3 separate regions of the Homo sapiens genome follow, and all the other regions are linked to region 2. Evidence: promoter capture Hi-C in 16 types of primary human blood cells and fetal thymus (Javierre and others, 2016). All regions are on one chromosome and are shown on one strand. The core of a region is centred on a gene start or on the middle of the fragment in contact, and the rest is flanking DNA. Distances in the headings are between cores, read along the strand shown.

Evidence for each region. Contacts are between HindIII fragments. The CHiCAGO score rates a contact against its expected background, and 5 or more counts as called.
Region 1: a contact is called between a fragment that was not itself captured here and the fragment with the promoter of KANSL1L-AS1 in region 2, in 1 of 17 cell types (neutrophils). The highest score is 6.7, in neutrophils.
Region 3: a contact is called between a fragment that was not itself captured here and the fragment with the promoter of KANSL1L-AS1 in region 2, in 4 of 17 cell types (M0 macrophages, neutrophils, M1 macrophages and 1 more). The highest score is 9.9, in M0 macrophages.

Annotation. Positions count from the first base shown.
Region 1 is chr2:208,423,150-208,427,350 of GRCh38, forward strand. The region is part of intron 1 of PTH2R (parathyroid hormone 2 receptor); the gene reads left to right. Among named protein-coding and RNA genes, the nearest start is that of PTH2R, 18 kb to the left of the region's middle. The HindIII fragment of the contact is 5,136 bases long and covers 1-4,201 here.
Region 2 is chr2:210,028,672-210,033,184 of GRCh38, forward strand. KANSL1L-AS1 (KANSL1L antisense RNA 1) reads left to right here and starts at 1,251. Exons shown (of 5, transcript NR_110291.1): 1 at 1,251-1,327; 2 at 2,796-2,836; 3 at 3,492-4,253. It overlaps KANSL1L (KAT8 regulatory NSL complex subunit 1 like), which reads right to left. Exons shown (of 15, transcript NM_152519.4): 9 at 2,750-2,875; 10 at 1,132-1,247; 11 at 174-298. The HindIII fragment of the contact is 1,781 bases long and covers 537-2,317 here.
Region 3 is chr2:208,390,527-208,394,741 of GRCh38, forward strand. It overlaps a transcript of PTH2R not described here. Among named protein-coding and RNA genes, the nearest start is that of PTH2R, 14 kb to the right of the region's middle. The HindIII fragment of the contact is 1,187 bases long and covers 1,365-2,551 here.

The DNA.
Region 1 (4,201 bases), core at 1,173-3,672, 1.6 Mb before region 2:
TCTTTTTGTAGGTTCTCGGGGTGGGAGATTATATTACTGATGCAAAACTTTTCTTCTTTTCTAATGGATGTATTTAGTGCTATGCATTTCTCTTAGCACTGCTTTAGGTCTGTCCCACAAATTTTGATATGTTGTTTTGTATTTTCATTCAGTTCAATGTACTTTTGATTTCCCTTGAGACTTTCTTTTTGACCCATGGATTGTTTAGAAGTGTGTTTAGTTTCTAAGTGTTTGGAGAGTTTTGTTATCTTTTTGTTATTGATTTCCAGTTTGATTCCATTGTGGTCTGAGAACATTGCAGTCTGAGAACTCTGTATGCTTGCAATTCTTTTAAAATTGTTGAGATTTGTTTTATGATTCAGGATATGGTCTACCTTGGTATTTGTTCTGTATGTATTTGGAAAGAAAGTGTATTCTCCATTGCTGGGTGAAGCGTTCAGTAAATGTCTATTAGATCCTGTTGGTTGATGGCATTGTTGAGTTCTATATCCTTGCTGATTTTCTGTCTAGTTGTTCTATCAATTGCTGAGAAAGGGGGTTGAAGTTTCCAGTTGTAGTAGTGGATTTGTTTATCTCTTCTTTCATTCTATCAGTTTTTGCTTCACATATTTTGCAGCTCTGTTTTTTTGATGCATACGCATTTTTGAGGGCCATGTTTTCTTGATGGAGTGACCCTTGTATTATGATATAATGTCCCTCTTTTAGTCTCTGGTAATTTTGTTTGCTCTACTTGGTCTGGTACTAATATAACTGGGGAAGTGGGATTATCACCTTATTACTGCTCATAGAAGTAGAAGTTTTGGTTCCTCCGTCAGCTATCACTGACACCTATGGTGGGCTGCTCCGTGGTCCTGATGTGTGGGGGTATGAGTGCTGCTCCTCATGTGGCCTCCACTGTCACCACAATGGGAGTAGCCTTGTTACTGCTAGGCTGACTCTCCACTAGGTCTTCTCTGACCCCCGCTCCAGCAGAGGAGTAGAGGGACACTGTGTTACTGTCAGGAGGGGTGGAAGTCCAGGCTTCTTATATGCAGGTTGTGAAGAAAAGGTGGGGGTGTCCAGAAGCCTTGTTTCAGGCCAGTGAGAGGGAATGTTTTAGTTCTTTACTTTGCTCTTAAACCATTCTGGGAGTTTGCAGGGGTCCCTTGTCATTTTGGGTTGGGTTTGTGAGACAGCATGTCAGGCAAGTGTTCTTGTATAAGTGGTTAGCTGTCCTTGTGTTGCTAGCTGTCCTTGTGTAAGCTGTCCATGTAGTAAACTGTGGTTTGGAAAAATTTCTTGCGATAGTTCCCATTATCCAGCAAATCATGTGTGAGAGCCCTGCCTTCATGGGTCTGCCCTGCTCCACTTGCCAAGGCTTGACATAAGTTACTCTAGTTTGGATCTTACAACTTCCACATTTCTCTGAAAGCATCACTGATCGACTCTCCTGTGGGTTGGTTTTAATTGTCCCTTGGTGCTGAGATGCACCTGTCCTGGATTGTTGGTATGGTCTCACATTGGGAAGAAGTGATTGGCGACTGGGAGTCAGTATCAAATCACTTTCAGCCACATTTGAGCAACAAGCCTGACCTGGAGAAAGTGGCTCTCAGGCTAAATCTTCCTGGGGTCCACAGTTAAGTTCAATTTTGTTGGTTCCATAAGTATTGGTTATCATTTGAAACACTGGCCCAGCATTATTCTATCAGGAGTGTTGTTTCTATAGAATTGGGGCAGGACACAGTTAGGTCCAAAGTTTAAAGGAAATAATACAAAGTAAAACCAACAGGAGCATAACGAATTTATTTTGTACAATGATTTTGAACCAAGAGGCCAAGCCTGAGGCCAAGAAACTAAGCAAATCAAAAGACCACTGGGAAACCGGGTGAGACCTGTTGTAGCCATTGAGATCAATGGACTAAATAAAAATTTCTAAAACTCTAATGAAAAAACTAATGGGTTCATGAAGCTGCAAATCAAAATCAAGCAGAACAAAATAATTACATAAGATTGAATACTTCTTAAAAATTATAATTTTTATGACCTTAAGGAGGTCATAATCATTGTGAAGGCAATGATTTATGACTTGCAAATCACATGTAATGAGATGGAGTAAAAAGCTGAACCCTTGAGATATTGAGGTAGGAGGTGGGGCTCAGAGACTGGACCAAATTGAGGACTAGCTAAAAGAGGGACATGGTGGAAGCAGCTTTCCATAAGACACATCCTCCAGTGTTCCATGCCAGTTTACCATTGCCATGGCAACACTGAAAGTTACCACCCCTTTCCACAGCAATGACCCAATGACCCAGAAGTTACCACCCTTTTAAAAGAAATTGCTATATAATCTACCTCTTAATTTGCATATAAGTGGGTATAAATATGACTGCAGAACTGCCTTTGAGCTGCTACTCTGGGCAGACTGCCTGGCCCTGCTCTGCAAGGAATAGTACCTCTGCTGCTGCTGTATACTGTCACTTCTATAAAAGTTGCTGTCAAACACCACCAGCTTGTCTTTGAATTCTTCCCTGGGCAGAGCCAGAAACCCTCCCAGGCTAAGCCCCAGTTGTGGGCTGCAGCTTGTTCTGTGGTGTTTTTCCAGGCTGTCTTTTTTCTTCCTTGGCTAGAGAGCAGGCTTCTCTTGAGACTTTTAAATTTTTCTGCCTGTGCCTATTGATATTCCAGAGTTTCCAGCTTCTTTTACTCCAAGTTGGGGATGTATGAGGGAGAAAGAAAACCCAGGGAATTTACCACCATGTTGTCTTCCAGGATCTGTAGCCTGCTCTGCTATCTTCTCTCTGCCTTTTAGAATATTGTTATATTCATTTTATATGTAATGTGTAGGGCTTTTGTTTATATTTACTGAGAGGAATTGGGGAAAGCACATCAACTCCATCATGCTGGAAGTTCCAGAATACCTCTTAAATTAAGCTAACTTATGGATTTATGGTTACTTAAAAATTGAATAAATGTGAATATTGGGTTAATTATGAAGATTTTCATGTCTTGACATTAAAATTGGTATCTATATTTATAACTTTAGGGGCTTTTAATAAAGTACAAATTACCAAAGTAGGGCTTCTCTTAGCTATCAAATATGTGACAGATTGGAATTTAACATTTTATTTCAAATCATAAATGATCACTTGTCCAGGAAAAATTACTAACATCTATTTTTCTAAATGTAACATTTTGTTTTGGGTGCAATTGTTGCTTTTGGAGAACTAGACATTGAAAATGTAAACTGCTCTTCTGTTTGAAGTACACTATCATTTTAATGTCATTCTATGTTAAACAGTGCTTGTATCTACAACAAAGGAATAAAAAGAAAGCAATATAAAAAACAAGTACTTATTTGCTTTTACTGGAAATGACTGATTTGGTTTGGCTGTGTCCCCACCCAAAATCTCATCCTGAATTGTAATCCCCATAATCCCCACATGTCAAGGGTGGAAGCAGGGGAGGTAATGAGATCATGGGGGCGGTTTCCCCCATGCTGTTCTGATAGTGAGTTAGTCTCATGAGATCTTGTGGTTTTGTAAATGTCTGGCATTTCATCTGCTTGCACTCGCTTCGTCCTGCTGCCCAGTGAAGAAGGTGCCTCCTTCTCCTTTGCCCTCTGCCATGATTGTAAGTTTCTTGAGTCTTCCCCAGCAATGTGGAACTGTGAGTCAATCAAGTCTCTTTCCTTACCCAGTCTTGGGTATTTCTTCATAGCAGTGTGAGAATGGACTAATACAATGACTAAAGATCAATTTAACAGATTGTGATTTAGCACATTCTGATCATACTTGCTCCCGGCTAAACTGACCAGATGTTTTAGAACAAAATATCTTTAGAAGCTGTAGTTTATAAGATGCATGGTTTCCTGAAAAGGTTATCCCTATAAAAAGGCTGCGTGTACACAGGAAGAAATAAAAAAGAATATTTTCGAGTAAAAATGGCACAAGGGGTGATTTGAAATATTCACGTTTGATAATTGAAGTCAAATTTCTCTGAATCAAATGTATAGTTCTGAAATTTGGTCACAATTTATACAATGTTTTCTAGGATTGAAGTAAAAGGAAGTAACGGTTTAACTGAAAAAAACAGCCAGGAAAAAACCAAAACAAAACAAAACAAAAAACTTCAGGTGTGCCTGACTGTTTCTAGAGAACGAATGGGAAGGAGTCAATTTTTCCTGCCATGCCCACTCAGAGACTCATGTATATCCAGTTCATTT
Region 2 (4,513 bases), core at 1-2,500:
GATACTATATAACACTTAAGGCACGAGTAATTTTTTTTTCACCGTTTCCCCTCCATGGCTATGAAGGAACTGGGAGAAGGATGCTCCTTTCATTAATTAAAATTCTTCACTTTGAAAATTTAAGTTTATTAGGGAAGGAAGGAAGAAAAATATGAAGATGTAAGTATACATACCTTGGAGTAAGTATTTCCTTATATTGGAGTTTCTCTAATTTAGCTGGGGCTACTAATGACATGGGAATCACAATGTTATCTATGTCATAAGAGCTCTCACTTCTCAATCTCCGTCGTGCAGTATTCTGCAAAACAGGATTACAGTAGATTTACAGTACTGTCTAGTTACTTGTAATGATACCCTCCTTTCATCAGTTATGTAAATATGGCAGTACACGTTACATAATTTTTGTAAATACATTGTTATAAAGTCTGACTAAAAAATGTTAAGAAAACCAAAAAATAAAACATTTTTCTATCTTTTGTAAATCAGAACAATCTCTTGGTAGATGTGTAATGTGTATTTATGTGTGCAAGCATACAAGCTTATTTTTAAGACCACAAAAAATAGGTCTTAAATGCAAAACTCTTTATCAGAAAAGACCAACATACATCACCCTAAATGTCAATGAAAATGATCAGTAACCACTTTTTATTAGGAAAGGCAGTGAAACATTTTTGGTCAGCCCTTCAGTATACTCTTCATTTATGCATTCCTGGTTCCTGAGTTTCGGAATTCATTTCTAAACCCTCCCACCTTTTGACCTCTCTATTCCCTGGCCAGATAACAAAAAAACAAACAAACAAACAAAAAACAGGACAAGAACAAGAAAGTCCTGAATTCTCATTAGTAAGACTTTATTTAGCTTAATATGTTAAGGAATAGAGATGATCATGATAATGTTTAAATTTTTAACACATAAAAAGAAGCTATAACCAAATATTAATGAACTTTTAGCTTCATAGTTAAAAATAAGTTGTATGAATCAAATATATTGTTTTCTAACAAGATAGTTATAAATGTCTGTTAATATGTGCTAGTAAGGCTGTTATAGATTAGCAAAATATAAATTATTTTCAAAATCAGGTGTTTTTATTTTTAAAGCTATTTTAGAGTTCAACATATGGAAAAACCTACTCGTGATGAATTCTGGATTCTTGATAAAACGTTGACATTGGAAACAGCAGTAAAATTGCTATGGGATCCTGATTCTGTGTGTTGAAAATCAGATTCTTCAAGTTTAGTTCTTTCTCCTGCCATGGAAAGAACCATTGAATGTTACACATTAAACAAGTCTAATATCATTAGAATTACTTTCCTAATTAGATGACAGGTGATTGATTCCTTGTTTTGTGTGTGTGTGTTTAAATTCGTGTATTAGAAAACAAAAAAGGAAATGAAAAAAGAGGAGCCTTACTTGCAGTCATGCCACAAGTTATTTCCATTTTCTGGGGCTTTGGCAGTTTTTATCGAATATATTTCTTATTGTTCCCTGAATAATCCCTCATCTCATCCCTTTATTCTTGTTTCCTGTGACTCCTATTCATAGTTGAACCACCAGAACTATCTTAATTTTCTTATCTAATCTCATTTTTCATATCTGACTTTTTATCCTAATTTATGTGAGGTATCTGTCCTTGGTCTTCTGAACACTCTTAATTTTTTGAAAAAATTCTGCTATTATAAGTACATGTTTCCGAAAGTACTTGTTCTCTGGTACTCTTTTTTTAAAACAGCATCCTGTTCTTGTTTCATAGATGAAATTTCTCATATCTCTCAGGATATTGATTAGAAGTTTACTTCTGTTAGTATTTTCTGTATATCTTCCAAGTTCTTTTTTTTTTTTTTTCCTGTTTTGGTTCCCAGTTACTGTGTGTGTGTGTGTGTGTAGTAAATATATATATGTATGCGTTTACTTACTGCCCTTATTTTAGTACAAGTGTTTTAAAATGAGAATATTTCCTGCATAATATAAAATCTAATACCCAGTCCATATTTAAATATCTCCATTTGTTAAAAAAAAGTCCTTTATAGCTAGTTTCTTCAGATAAGGATCTATATATAAAAATTGGCCATTGTCTCCTAGGTTTCTTATAGTCTAGAATAAATCATTTTTCATTACATTGACTTTTGACAGGCTGGACCAGATGTCCTACCCTTTTGGAATTGTCTAGTTATTTATTTGTAGTATGACATTTCTTTATTTTATTCCTGTATGTACATCAAACTTGAAGTTAGATCTAAAGTGTCAGTCAATTTAAGTGAAACATTTTATATCTTAGGTAATGTATACTTCATGTTGCATCTTATTAGATGTTTTTAAAGCTTTATATATATATATAAGTTGAATCTTGTTGACTTTCTCAAAATCCTGAGGAATCTGCAGTGCATCAACATCTCCACAGTAGGTACCATAAATGGTTAACAGTTTCTGTAAGGCAACTTTGCACTAGCCTATTTTGAGCATAGAACACAACTTTGAAGATTAAATCCCATCCAGGGACTGATTGGTAGAAGACAACTAGTCAGGGAACATAGGAGGGAAATACTTAATTGCCATAAAGTGGGTAGATACCAGTCCACAAATAATTCTAAATTAACTACGAATATGCTGTTTCATGTTTGTAGACTCATAGATGTTTTGTGTTATTAGTGGCTGTTCTGGATTATAAACTCCCATGAGAGGTTATTTTAAAATCAGAATTTTTAATTTTTAATATTTATCACTACTGCTTATATCCTCACTTTAACCTACCTAATGCTGTTTCACTCAAATGTCTTTTCTTTCTTCCCTGTAACAGTTGTGCAGAAGATTCTGACCTTATTTGAGGCTTACATATAGGTGAATATCCATTTCTCCATTGATTCAGAGTACTATGTACTAAAACAAATGAAAAGGAAATATTAAGTTTTAGTTCCTTAACACAGACAGTGAACATGTCAATCTGTTTTTATTTGTAACTGCAGAATTTTAAGATACCAGTTCAAAATTACAGATAAACATAAATACCAAGACACACAACTCCAACTAAAAACATCCCCAGGAATTTCCAGTTTCTTATATTTTCTCCATTTTTTTGAGGGGGATGAAAAGGGAAGATGATCTGTTCTCAAAGTCTTCCAAATTACAGAAACTTGATAGAGTGAGGATTGGCTCAGATATATAAATCTTGGCGATCAGAATCTTTAAGTTCTTGCTTACCTTTAAATCTGGAAATAAGTTGGGACCAAGTAAGATTCAACATGGTCAGACTAGACTGTGCGAGCAAGAACCAGAATCATTTAATATCTCTGATGCCTTAGTTGCATCATCTGTAAAATAGGGATAATAGCAGCGACCTTGGATAATGATTACATGAGTTTATTCCTGTAGTAGTAAGTAAAAGTGTCTGATGTGATAAGTGTGCAGTAAATGTTAGCGTTATCATGATTGTATATCTGAACCCCCTTATTTCCAGCCTTGGTCTAACAACCAAATTGGCTTCTTTTTTTGAAAGGTTTGGAGATGTGGAAAGGAGTGGAAAAAGAAATATGTAAGCTGAAGTGCCAAACTCACACTGAAATAAAGGGCATGGCCTACCAGCTGACAAGGAGTGTCTGGTTTCAAGATGGCAAATGACCCTAAACATGATAGACAAATACGTTTTACATAGGTACATGCACAGATAGGCACATATAAATCCACATTTGCAAGCAAAAAGTGGAACCTGTAAAGCAGAATTTCTGAGGAATCTCTAAAAGACTAATACTATATGGAATTTGAAGAGGAAACCCAGAGCAGAAGCACATAGTGAAGTACTGCCACAAAGATGTGTGACGCCACTAAAGGTGCTCTAGACCCACAAGAAAGGAAAACTGGGAGCAGGACAACTATCTGGATATTGACTGCACATGCCAATATCTCAGTCAGACTAACAGAATCAGAGCTTTAGGCAGAGAAATGAATGGTTGGAGAGAGAAGGCAATGCCCAGGTGCCCTGCTTTGAAATGTCCCGCCCATCCCCAAATTAGTCTGAAAATTTCAAATGTTGTATAAATTCCCTTCCCATCAAAAGTGTCCCATAAACAGCAGTGGTAGAAGAGTTTTAACTGAGTATCACAGCTTCAATGATGAGTATAGAAAACTCCAAAAATCTGAATACCAACACAATCAAAAAAGAGGTACAAACCACAAGTGGAAGAACCATCTCAAGAAATAATGAAGCATTCATGGAATACAGATTAGCAACTCTTTAAAACAGTATTGCCAAGAGAAACAGGTAAGAGGCCCTCTGGAGAAATGTCAGAAATAGAAAATGTAATTGTTCAAATGTTAAAATCATCACTAGGCTAAGAAACAGAATGGACACAGCTGAAAATCAAAATCAGGGTCTGGAAGAGGAATTCCATAACTTGATGGAACAGAGTGATAGAAAATATGGAGGGAAAAAGACCGCAATGGGGTAACAAGATGAGACTAGAAAGAGTGAAAAGGAGGGAATAGTTGAAGAAGTGATAGCTGAAGTGTTTTCCAGAATCA
Region 3 (4,215 bases), core at 708-3,207, 1.6 Mb before region 2:
TAGGAGCTAAAGGGTGTGATGTATTACTAAGTCCGATAAAAAGTCCTAATAGACTTAGTGATAGTAAAACACTCATGTTTATTTTCTGTTAGTAACCATTATTCCTGCTATCAGGATAATAATTAAGCAAAATGCTACAGTAATTGAGATTCTCTGTCTGATTTTCCACCCTGAGGGTGCTACAGTATATAGTTCTATTGCAAATAGTAGAGTGAGTATAACAATTTCTGCAAGGGTGGCATAGTAAATAATTTCCATCAAAAAGAAGTTTTAATATTTGGCTCAAAGGGAGAGGTAGAAATGACAAAAAGTATTTGATGAGGTAGGGGTGAGACTGAGTACGATGAGTAGTTCTTACTCAGTTACTTATCTTTTGTGATTTTCAGCTTAAGATCTATTTTTTCACAGATATTCAGGTCATTCCTTTGGGCTTTGGTCCCTTAGCTCTCCAAGGCTTTGACTCGAGTGTGATGTATCCAGAATTTGATTCCTATGACTTTTATTCCTGAGGGAGTTGAAAGAAGAACGGTGTAAGGCCCTTCCCAGCTTGGGCTTAGGGAGGGAGGCAGGGAAAGCAGAGCCTTCACCTGTACCAAATCTCCTGGGTTAAATAGAGTGGTCCAATTTCCTGGGGTTGGGCTTTCATGAATTGTGCTAATTGGAAGTGAGCCAGAGAAGTTACATGCTTAACTAGCTTAGACGTTTCTCGATTTAATAGAAAATCATTGGTAAGGAAAGGCCATCCATACAGCATCTTAAAAGGGCTAAGACCTAATTTTGAAGGTGTATTTTTTATTTCTAGTAAGGCCATAGGAAGAAAAGTGACCCAAGGAAGGTGAGTTTCTTGGGATAATTTTCTGAGGTGTCTCTTGATAGATAACCCACTGGCTGTTGAGCTGGTCCTTGGGCCTGTGTTAAAACTTCCAGGGCCATCCCCTTTCTTTCTGATACATACAGATTGAAGGACTCCCCTACAGGAAGGCTGAGAGCTGCTGCTTTGAGCAAAGCTTGCTTTAGCTTGTCAAAGGCCTTTTGAACTTCAGGTTTCCAGGTTAAAAGATGAGTTTTAGCTCCCTGAGTTTTTTTATGACGTTATGTAATGGATGGGCTATTTCACCATATCCAGGTATCCACAGTTTACAAAATCCTGTAATGCCCCCAAATACTCTTAGTTGCTTGAGAGTTTTGGGGAGGGAGAAGGTGGAGATAGGCTTAATCCGCTCTTTCCCTAATGCTCTGGTCCCCTCAGACAACACTAAGCCTAGGTACTTCACTAAGGTTCTGCAGAGCTGGGCCTTGGGTTTTGAAACCTTATATCCTCTGCTAGATAAGAAGTTGAGAAGAGCTTCAGTACCTTCCTGAGAAGCTTCCTCAGTTGGGGCACAGAGCAGTATATAATCCACATACTGCAAGACCCTAACTTGAGTATGAGAGAACTCAGAGAGGTCTGGTGACAGTGCCTGTCCAAACAGACGAAGACTATCTCAAAATCCCTAAGGGAAAACCATCCATGTTAACTGGGTGGTCTGGCCGGAGGGATCTTCAAATGCAAACAGGTATTGAGAGTCGGGATGTAACAGTATGCAGAAAAAGACATCTTTCAAATCTAGGACTGCAAACCATTTAGTTCCCTCAGGTATTTGAGTTAACAGGATATAGGGATTAGGGACCACTGGATGGATTGGAACTACAGCTTTATTAATGAGGTGAAGGTCCTGAACTATTCTTCATTCCCCATTGGGTTTCTGCACTCCTAATATTGGGGTGTTGCAGGGGCTATTACAGGGTTTGAGGAGGCCTCTAATCTTTAGGTTATTAATAATGGCTTCTAGCCCTTTCCTAGCCTCTGGCCTTAAGGGATACTCTCTCTGGTTAGGAAAAGAAGTGGGATCCTTAAGATAGATTTGGATGGGCCTAGCAGTTATAGCTCAACCTATTCTTCCTTGAGTTGCTCACACTTCTGGATTAATGTTAACTTCCATCAGGGGGAGACAAAGAGTTTGTCCTGGGGCTATAAGGATACTGGCTCCCATGCGAGCTAGAATATCTCTACCTAATAAAGGAGTGGGACTTTTAGGCCTGATTAGAAAGGCATATGTAAATAGTAAGCCCCCAACCTGCAGCTACGGGTTAAAGGTAAATATCAGGTTAGAGTTTTTCCTGAGACGCCTCTTACAGTCATACTAAAGGAAGAGGGAAGGCCTGGATTACAGAGGAGAAGAGAGACTGGCTCCAGTACCCAGAAGATCTACCTTCCTTCCTTCAATTTTCAGAATCACCCGGGGCTCTTGTGCTGTAATGGCAGACTGAGCCGCTGGAATGGGGGTTTGAGCCCCGGGACCTGTCAATCCTGCTGGACCATCTCTGAGACTGGTTCTGAACCCAGTGACCTCTGCCTCCAGGGAAAGACCTGTCTTCAGCAGTTTCCACCACAGGCTGGACAGGGTCAAGGAAGGTTCGTATTGCTGTCTGGGCATTCCTTCTTAAAATGCCCTGGCTGGCCACATTGATAACACCTAGTGGATGCACCTTGGGGATTCTGGACTTTACAAGCTTGCAACGCTGCTACTAGAGCCTCTGTTCTCTTGTATTTCCTCTCCTTTTCTCAGGCCTCCTCCTGATCCCTATTGTAAAAGACTAAAGTGGCTATTCTCAGGAGGTTTTCTAGGGTGCTCTCTGGTCCTACAACTTGCTTCTGTAGCTTCCTTCTAATGTGGGGAGATGCCTGTGTGATAAACTTGTCCTTCAGGATGAGCTGTCCCTCAACTGAATCAGGGGATAAAGAGGTGTGTTTTATTAGTGCCTTTTTCAGCCTTTCCATAAAGGCTGTGGAATTCTCATCTCATCTTTGGTCTAGCATGGACAGTTTAGAGTAATTGAAAGGGTTGGCCCTGGTCTTCCATAGGCCTTCTATATTAGAAAAAGGGCTTCCTTTTCCATTCATCTCCTGAGTTATTGGGATTCCAATCAGGGTTGTCTACTGGAACTGCTTCCCTTCCTAGTGGAATGGAGTTTCCACCTCTTCCTCACCTTCCCTCTCTCCTCTTTTTCTCCTGGGTCTGCTATAGGAGACATGTTGCTCATCTCCGTATTTTTCTGCTGCCTGCAGAACTGTCTGCTTTTCAGCTGCAGTGAGGGTCTGACTTAGCAGCAACATAACATCCCTCCGTGTGAGATCAAACACCTGAGTTAAATTTTGGAAAATTTCTATATACCTACAGGGGTCATCAGAAAATTGGCCTAAGTCTCCCTTTATTTGCTTAAGATCCTGTAATGAGAAGGGAACTTGAACCCTTATGGCACCACTCCCATCAGGCATTTCCTGCAGAGGTAAGAGTGAAGGGGGGAGAGTAGGATATACTGGAGCTGGTAGAGCTGGAGGAGTGGATGGTATGATTGGAAGGGGACTGGAAGGGTTGGGACATTCAATAGCTGTCTCGGATTACTCCTCTGGAACCTGCTTTAGCTCTGGGGAACTATTCCCTGTGGGCTTGCCTGTTGTGGCTGCTAAAAGAACTGGGTTGATTGTACAGAACTTGTAAAGGTCTGAGTTGTCTTGAGGGGCAAAGAAAGCCTGTACATAGGCAGCCTCAGTCCATTTGCCCTTCTGTTTGCAGAAAAGTTTTAACTTTTGGATAATACTAAAATCAAGGCTCCCCACTAGCAGGCCAGGTTTGCCTGTCCCGAAGATAGTAAGAAGGGCATGCCCTTGTGCAATAGAATATGAAGTGCTTTTTCTTCAAAGTCTCAGGGCCGAAGGAGTCCCAGTGCTTTAAAATATACCCCAGGGGGGTGCATGTTGAAGACAATCTGTTACTCATCTAGAAAGAGAAGTGAGAATAAAAGTGTTCTTTTAGTCTGCTTCCTTTCAGTATGTGATCCAGGATAGAGAAGAAAACAGTAGGGGGTGTCCCCCCCACCAATTATTTTCTCTCCCTGGTTCCTGGATCCTGGCACCCATTTGAATGGGACACCCATGACTGCAGGCATGACCCTCTAAGCCATGGCACCAGAGAAACTAGACTTTTGGCCCTAGTCACGCTTCCCTAAGCAGCCTTAGTCCTCTGCCTTTTATTTCCTTTTGACCTCCTAGACTTGTGTGACCTGTGTGCCTCCCTAAAAAAATGGATCTCAAGAAAAACTACGTAATTGAGCAAGGCCCCTTTAAGGGAGGGGGCGTGCTAGATTGAACTCTATATCCTGTTATTATGGCCC